2 separate regions of the Homo sapiens genome follow, and region 1 is linked to region 2. Evidence: promoter capture Hi-C in 16 types of primary human blood cells and fetal thymus (Javierre and others, 2016). All regions are on one chromosome and are shown on one strand. Each heading gives the region's core, a stretch centred on a gene start or on the middle of the fragment in contact. The rest is flanking DNA. Distances are from core to core; before and after follow the strand shown.

Region 1 (5,002 bases), core at 2,223-4,722, 2.6 Mb after region 2:
CACTGCTTCTCAGATTACACTCATGAAATTCCAAGTAGGATGTCCACATAGGCTGCAAAGACAAGTTCCTGAAGTCTCCAGGAGTTTCTTTTGCTACTGAGCTCTTGATTCATGGGAATGGAAGTAGAGGAGACAGGATGTCCTTGGAGGAGCACTTCCAGTTAGATCTCTTACACATTTAGATATTTCAATGAAAAATTAGGAGTCTGGTGATTACTGATTGGATTTTTTTTTGTGAAGTTGCATTATTCTGAACACTCTGCTCGTTCCTCCTCTGGGCCTACCAGTGTTTCAGTAAATACGGACACGCCCTGTGTAATCACCTAAGAAAATGGTGACTTCCTTTCAGAGAATATGAAGAGGAACTGTCCGTTGAATGTGATTATGATTTGCTAATGTACTTCTTTCTATAAATTGTCAAATGTGTCAAATGATCCTTTAGCAGACTTGATTTTAAAATATGGTAATTCGTTGTACTAGGCCATGAAAGCAATGAACCTGTTCTTCTACAGCCTCCTAAGAGTTGGACATGTATATTTATTGAAAATTACATATTTCTTTCCACTTTTTAGAGTCAATTGAGGAACCATGAGAGAGAACAGCACAGTCTTCCAGATACCTTGTCAATAGCAACTTCTAATGAGCCAAGAATTTCCAGTGATACAGCTGATGGAAAATGTGTCCAGGAAGGTATCTATGTATTTTGTTATGCAGGCTGCAGTGACTTGCACATGACATAAAAGTGCCCTTAGTTGTCATGGTTGGTTATTTTCAGGGCAAAAGCCTATATTCTCCTCCATTTTTGTACCATGGATGTGAGTGAATCTGATCTCTGTTTCTGAGGAAATGCCAAGTACTGAATGAAGCAGATGATTACTAGGTCCTAGGTGAGAAGCCCTAGATAGTAAGGATTCATCTTCAGTTGAAACTTAAGAGCCCCTTAGAAGGTGATGTACCAGCAAGCCAGAAAAGCAAGCCAGAAAAGCTACAACATGGAAAACAGGCCTCCCCTCCCTCTCTCGGCACCAGTTGACCTACTGAGAACAGAGCTTTTGCAGATGGTAGGCCCCCACCCCAAACTTTAACTGGGGCTCCCCGCTGTGATCTTATTCTTACCCAAGTATGACTGCCAGATTTCATCTGCATTATTAAAAAAAAAAAAGCACACACACAGACACACAAGATCTTTTTATGTACTAGTTAAGTAGCAGTCAACCGAGTTTCTGGTAATAAGAATATTAGAATCAAAAGATTTAATTAGAGCTCCATGAAAAGGCGGATGCCACATCCGGAGAATTAAGGATAAAGTGTACTAAGCTGTGCCGCTTTGGTTCAGCTCACTTAAATTGATATACTTTAAATGTCTCCAGTGTGGCACATAATGTTTATGGGAGATAAGACATATTGGGGTGACTTTCCCTTTTAGATTTGCTAAGAATTAAAGTTAGAAACGACTACAGAGTGAAATGTTTTACCATAATGTTTCATTAAATTATACCCCAGAAAGCATAACTGATTCTAGAATGCTTCTGAAAGAACTGATTTTGACACCACTGTAGCACCAAAATTCTCATGTCAAACAGATGTCATCCCTGTAAAACTCTCTGAAACAAAAGGAGTTTATGATATAGCATCTGTTTTTGCAGTAGATGGCTGAGCTAAAACAGTTTTGTTTCCTTTTTACAAAATAGCCCTAAATGCCTCCTTTTATTTTAATTCATTATGTTTCCATATCCCCTTTAAAGGAGACATTAAAACGTCTGATATGATTGGACCATAAATCCCTAATGAAAGGATGAAGTAAATACTACTCAGTAGCACCACCTGCAGTTAATATCAGTGTTGGAAGATGTCTTTTTTAGCACCGTCCTAAAAAGCAAACATTTCAAACTGTCCAAATGAGTTAACATTAAAATTCACAATTTTAATAAAAAGATTAAAGTGTCAGCTCAAAATTAAAATAACCACTTCAGACTTTACAGTATTAATGAATGTTTACTAGATTTTATGTTGCAGCATCTTTTCTTTGTGGCTCATGCTTTTTTTTTAGGGTTACATGCATGGATTTTTAAATTGCCTGCCATGCCTCTTTTCCTCCACCTGGCTCCATTTGCTTTTTTCTCTCAGTACTGTAGCAGTTCAAATGGCTGCATACTTATACCTGGATGGGTACTTTATTAACTCAATATTAGATATTTTGAAATCTGGTTGTCAGGCCAAAGAAAAAATTTTTAGCTCACAAATAAGGTAATAATAATTCATGCTTTGTTAAAACTTCTTTACCTATTTAGTAAACTTGTTAAACAAGAAGAGAGATTTGTGCCTCTGTGATCCTCAGTCTCTGCCATTCAGATAGCACAGATACCTTAGGGCATGTTTCAGCTTAACATTTGCTTGGCCAAAAGGCATGGCCTGCCTGTCTTGAGCTAGATACTGTGTTAGGTGCTGGGAGTACAGTGAAAGGCATCACTGCCCTTCAGGAATCCAACTCAGTGAAGAAGACAGAACGAGGCTGATGGGTATGTCAGCAGATACCGCAGGAGCTCAAATAGAGCCGCAAGCAAAGCCCTTTCGTATGGTGTTACTCCATGAAACCTAATTAAATTGTTTTTTATTGGAAACCTATAATTTGCCAAGCGCTGGGGATTCAGTCTAAACAAAACAAGCAGATCCTTATCCTCAGGGAATAGACAGCTTAGTGGCAGGGCAGAGATTTTACCCAGACATGCAGGTAAAGTACAGACTTTGCTAAAGGAAAAATATAGGACTTACTAAACTATGCTGTGAGGTTCTAGCATTTCCAATTTGTAGATGAGAAAACTGAGACTTCAAGAGGCAAAATAATTTACCCATGATCATACTGGTAGAAAGTGGCAGAGCGAGGACTAAGCCCAAGTTTTTGAACTTTAAATCCAATATTCTTTCCATTGGAAACAGTTGCTTGAAGTAGCACAGGCTCTCATTCTGTGCTATATTAAGTTTTTCCATCTGTCAGTTTTATTAGTTGTCATTGATCTGTAATATTTCTCACACAAAACCATTATCCAATATTTCACACTTCATTTTTTAGGGTTTTTTTAAAACTGTATTTGGAACAGTGCCATTTATAATCAAGTCCAAGTTTTTAACCTACCAATTAAGAGCAATACTTAGATTATAATTATGATTAGTGTGTATATTAACGTTATAGATTTATACCAGGAAATTAGGACATTTTGTTCTGCTTGGCAGTAGTTATTAGCAAAAGAAAATTTCAATTTTAGAAACCGTAAATTTAACTTAAGGATTTTCTTTGTTGAAATTTCAGTGTGGGTTTTCCTTTGTATAATACCACGGATTTTACTTTTATGCGGTGTATACAGGTGTTCTACCTAAGCTTTCTTCCTGCCAAGAGACACACAGTTCTTCCTGCTCTGCCTTTTTCATGAGCTTCCATGCTTGCTTTGTTTCTGAATATAAAGCAGAGTGTGAATAGCCTGTGGACTGTATGCTGACAGACAAGTACATGAAGCGTTGAATATCTTCAAGAAATCGTTTTATATGATCAAGTCACTCAACTCGTGTTGACATAAGCTTACCCCAACTTGAATTACTCAGCCCTGTTGTTGCAGAGTGAGTTTAGTAACATGGCTACTTTTCGTTGGATCCATGTCTCCTGCGTTTCGGAGAGCTGCATATTCATGTCAGTCATAACCTTTGTCCCTGTAACCTGTCAGTTAACTAGAAAGAATTATACATTGCATAGCACTTAAAAATTTGCGGCCGCTTTTCCTTTCTTGTTGCGTTGGTAGCTGACGTTTAGTGGTAAACAAAGAAAATGCACTGGGTGAAAAGGCCTTAGGCTTTTTTTTTGTAGGGTGAGAGTGGGGGAGAGATCTCTTGCTCTGTTGCCCAGGCTGGTCTCCAGCTCCTGGCCTCCGGCAGTCCTCCCACCTCAGCCTCCCAGAGTACTAGGATTATGGGCATGAGCCACCACACCTAGCCAGGCTTTTTATATTGAGTTGGTTATATATGCTTCATAGCCACACTTTATAATATTGGAGTATAGTATTAAATTACAGCTTGTTGTCAAGTCAGTGTTTCTGTAAGACAGTATATCCAATATTGGTTAGAGTAACACCTATTTGGTGATACAGATCAACAGGGTGTCTCTGATTAATTTAGCTCCTACATAGCCAGAAGCAAGTTCATTATGACTTAGAATATTGTACATGGTTATGCAGGAATCATCCCAACCTATCTGTGTTTATAGGTCAGATGATGTTCAGTTTATATCTGCTGATAGTGTATATGCAGGAAAACCTATAAAACCACTTCAGACTTGTTAAAACAGTGAGAAAGCCGTGATTGAAATATTAATACAACTGTGTGGTATAAATTTTCATTTACAATGGAATGTAAATGCTGTCATTTGAATCTTGTCAAAGCCTGCTACTAAAACTCTGAAATACCTTGTCTAGGGAATAAGTCTTCAGTCCAGAAACAATATAGATGTGATGTGTGTGATTATACAAGTACAACATATGTTGGTGTCAGAAACCACAGGCGAATCCATAACTCTGATAAGCCGTACAGGTAAGTGTTATGATTCTAGAATTTTAATGTTTGTATTAAAATATTTTATATTAAAGAAATAAAATGAAATAAAAATGTATAGCACTTACTGAAACACAGGTTAAGAAGTAAGAAATTTTCACTAATTGGTTTTATATTTTGTTGTTTTATATATTTACTTATTTATTTTTTGAGTCAGTGTCTTGCTGTATTGCCCAGGCTGGAGTGCAGTGGTATGATCACAGCTCACTGCAGCCTCGAACTCCTGGCCTCAAGGGATCCTCCCACATCAGCCTCCCAAAGTGCTGGGATTGCAGGCGTGAGCCACTGCACCTGGCTGGTATTATGTCTTGTTTGATTTGTTAAGATGTGAACTTTAAGCTTGAATCTTAGGACAGTAGGCATTTTGTCTAGTTGATACATAGGAAATTGTCTTTATCTGTCAATT
Region 2 (3,801 bases), core at 1-2,500:
TCTCTTTCCCTCTCCCCTTCCTTCCTGCTTTTTGTTGTTGCTGGTGTTGTTGTTGTTTTTTCCAGAAACGCAGTCTCCCTGTGTTGCCTAGGCTGGTCGGGAACTGGCCTCAAGCAATTCTTCCGCCTCGGCCTCCCGAGTAGCTGGAACTACAGGTGCTATTCCAAGATGGTGAAACCCCGTCTCTACTAAAAAATACAAAAATTGGTCGGGGTGGCTCACGTCTGTAATCCCAGCATTGCAGAAGGCTGAGGCAGGTGGATCGCAAGGTCAGGAGTTTGAGATTAGCCTGGCCGATATGGTGAAACTCCGTCTCTACTAAAAATACAAAAAAATTAGCCAGGCTTGGTGGTGTCGCCTGTAATCCCAGCTACTAGGGAGGCTGAGGCAGGGGAATTGCTTGAACGAGGGAGGTGGAGGTTGCAGTGAGCCGAGATCGCGCCATTGCACTCCAGCCTGGACAACAGAGCAAGACTGTCTAAACAAAAGCTCAACAAACTACCTGCCATCCCCAAAACTAATCTCACCTCCTAAAGCATTAACGACCCTTCCTGACCAAATCTAAACTAGCGCCCAGATTTTCTTCCCATATGGCTCAGCCCAGCTCCGCTGCCCCACAGGTGTCCTGTCAGGATCCGCTTCACATTTATAATACCTAGCACCCCACCCCCAGCCCCGCCCCTGCCCCACCAGCCACCCCCACTCTACCCCACCCCTACCCATCACATTCCGCACCCCACCCCCGCCAAACCCACATCCCCACCCCACCCAACCTCACCCACTCCCACCACATCCACCACCCGCACCCCACCCCCACCCACCACACCCATGCCTACGCCACTCCTGGGTGACAGCGAGCCAGGGCCCGGGACTCTAGTCCCAGCTCTGCTGCTTACTTGTGTGACTTCAGCCTCTCCATGCCTCAGTTTCTCCATAGGGACAATGACTACACTAACAGTGTCCACCCCGGCACCGGGAGGGCCGGGCTCCCGGCAGGGCGGGGACCCTCTCCCCAAGGCACTCCCGGGTCTCCAGGCCTGCTCTTGGGGTGCCCCCTCCTCTCGCGGGGCGCGGCCTGGGAGGCGCCCCGCCCCGGCTCCGGGCGCTCCTTTACCTGGGGGAGCGGAGGTCTACGCGGCGCGCTCGGCGATCAGACGCGGCTGCAGCCCGGGCCTGGCAGGCCCCGGGCTCCCCGCCCAGCTCCCCAGCCCCGCGGAGGGTCGCGCAGGCCTTGGTGGCGGCCCCGGCGCTGGCCCCGCCCTCCGTCCCACCTTCCGGCTGCGCCGGGCCTTCCGGGAAGCCACGCGCCGGGCCAGCTCCTGGCTCCGAGCTGCGCCCGGCCTTAGGGGGAGCCGGGGGTCGCTGCTGGGCACCCCCTCCCCGGTCCTGGCCCACCCCGCCGCTGTCACCGGGGCCCTGGCTTGGGTTGCGGGTGGCGTAAGGAGACGAGGCGCCCGGAGAAGAGTCCTGGGAACCGCAAGGCCGCGCTCCCGCAGGCCCAGCCCTGCCTTTCTCCCACGCGCACGCATGATCACATCCGGGCCCCGCGCACCTGCCTCCAGGACCGCGGGGACCTCCCGGAGACCTCCCTCCCTTTGGCCTGGAGGACCCCTCTCTCCCCGCAGCCTGGGCACAGAAGAGAGCACAGGGGCATCTGGAGGTCAAGGGTGCTGCGTCAGTATTTGGTGAATGTGTGGGCCGGAGCCAGATTTCCTCTGTTCCAGAGCCTGCTCTGGAGCCTCTGGGTCTGGGGGTTGCAAAAGGAGAAGCAGGTTGGGTGGGACTCGTAATCCCAGCTGCCAGTGAGGCTGAGGAGGGAGGATTGCTTGAGCCCAGCAGTTCGAGCGTGGGCAACACAGTGACATCCCATCTCTACAAATAATAATAAAAATTAGGCCGGGTGGGTGAGTCATACCTGTGACCTACAGCATTTTGGGAGGCTGAAGCGGGAGGATTGCTTGAGCCCAGGAGTTCGAGGCTGCAGTGAACTATGATCCCACCACTGCACTTCAACCTGGGTGACAGAGTGAGACCGTCTCTTAAAGAAAGAAAAAAAAGGAAAAGAACTGGCTTTGCTCTTAGGAGTCTTGGATGGGGACCAAAGCTGAGGCAAGGCAGCCTCTTAGGAAGGTGCAAAGGGCATGAGGCTGGGGTTGCAGAACTGCCTGGGAATACTACTTTATTGAGGCCTGTGGAAAGCTGTCCCTACTCTTGTCATGCAAGGTCTGGCCTTGAACCATCTCAAATCCAAAAGTGGCTTCTGGGGGGCTCTATAGAGAATTAATCCTAACAGGAACCCTGCAAAGCAGGCATGGTTGTCACTGCTATATTACAGATGGGAAGCTCTAAACACAGGCTGCTCTGCCCAAGGCCATCCTGGTTAGAAAGTTTCAGGGCCCAAACTCCAGCCTCGGTCTCGGTATCTCAAAGTCTCCGCCTGTGACCAGCACTCTGCCTGCTTTCCAGGGTGCCATGGGCACCCAGAGGACGGACCCTTTTCCATTTTTAAAAGAATGGAACAAACGCTCTTAATACCAAGCTTCCCCAGGCCTTGGCTGGGATAAAACAACCCCATTTATTCCTGAATCGGAGCTTTTGCTTGAGTTTGGGTGACTTTCAAGAGGGAAAGTGAACTGAGGCCAGGGGAACTCAGCTTGCTGCCTTCCTGGGGCCTGAGTGTGGCGCTCCCGTTTCTCTGCGGGCAGCTCCCTCTGGCGGCACATTGCAGAACTGGCCTGCAGACTCCTCCCCCAGAGATAGTGGGGAAGAGGGCCTGTGTAGGGAAAGATGCTGGGAGTGAAAGAAGCTTCAAAGTCCAGGCCCTCCAGAGAAGGCAAGCATGTAAGAGGTTCATGCAGCCCAGCGCGGTGGCTCACACCTGTAATCCCAGCACTTTGGGAGGCCGAGGCGGGCAGATCACCTGAGGCCAGGACTTTGAGACCAGCCTGGGCAACATGGTGAAACCCCATCTCCACTAAACATGGAAAAATGAGCCAGACATGGTTGGTGCAAGCCTGTAGTCCCAGCTACTCGGGAGGTTGAGGCAGGAGAACCGCTTGGACCCGGCAGATGGAGGTTGCAGTGAGCCGAGATCGCGCCATTGCATGCAAATCTGCAACCCATCAGCCTCCTGGGCCTCATTCTGATACGAATGCAGGCATAACATGACCGCACACTCTGAACCCCAGAGATGGAGCACACAGTGCCTCATGCTCCTAAAGGCAACTGCGGCCTCCTGCACAGTGAGCAAGGCGTGCCGTGGGGTCTCGGTGGTGGCGCGGAAATGGCACTGGCCCAGCACACAGCGATGCTTTATGCTGCTTACAGTGACCTAGGGAAAGTTCTTCCACGTCTCCGTGCCTCAGTTTCCTCATCTGGGAAATGGCAACAAGAGTAGTACTTATCCTATAGGGTTGTTCTCAACATAAAAGGAGGTAATATATATGAATCTAGATTATTCTTGTTTACATTACAGAATGTGAAAATGAGCGGCTTCTCCAAAGTCCCATGAGCCTCATGGGCCCAAGGTAGTGGGAAATCCAGTTCTACCCCCACCTTGACAAAACATTCTCTTGCTGATGGGCCCAACAATGCCCTAGGGTGCTAGGTGGTGTTCACACGGCCAGCCAGAGTCAAAACTCAGACGGGGCCAGCGTTCTATGCCCTCACTTTCTCCCAAAGCTGAGTGCACCAGCTCCTAAAACTTCCATGGCTCCTTCAGGCTAAAGCCACCCACCTAGACCAGGGCTGGATGATCCGCAATGTGGGCCACACCCAAAAACCCTATAGCTTCTTTTGTTG

What was found. The method cuts DNA at HindIII sites, captures the fragments that hold promoters and counts their contacts. A CHiCAGO score of 5 or more calls a contact.
Region 1: a contact is called between a fragment that was not itself captured here and the fragment with the promoter of C19orf12 in region 2, in 1 of 17 cell types (total CD8 T cells). The highest score is 7.1, in total CD8 T cells.

The regions. Positions count from the first base shown.
Region 1 is chr19:32,356,044-32,361,045 of GRCh38, forward strand. It overlaps ZNF507 (zinc finger protein 507), which reads left to right. Exons shown (of 7, transcript NM_001136156.2): 4 at 573-690; 5 at 4,461-4,575. Among named protein-coding and RNA genes, the nearest start is that of ZNF507, 13 kb to the left of the region's middle. The HindIII fragment of the contact is 197 bases long and covers 3,375-3,571 here.
Region 2 is chr19:29,714,011-29,717,811 of GRCh38, forward strand. C19orf12 (chromosome 19 open reading frame 12) reads right to left here and starts at 1,251. Exons shown (of 3, transcript NM_031448.6): 1 at 1,115-1,251. RefSeq lists a silencer at 786-1,575 and enhancers at 1,746-1,845, 2,391-2,610. The HindIII fragment of the contact is 2,629 bases long and covers 1-2,537 here.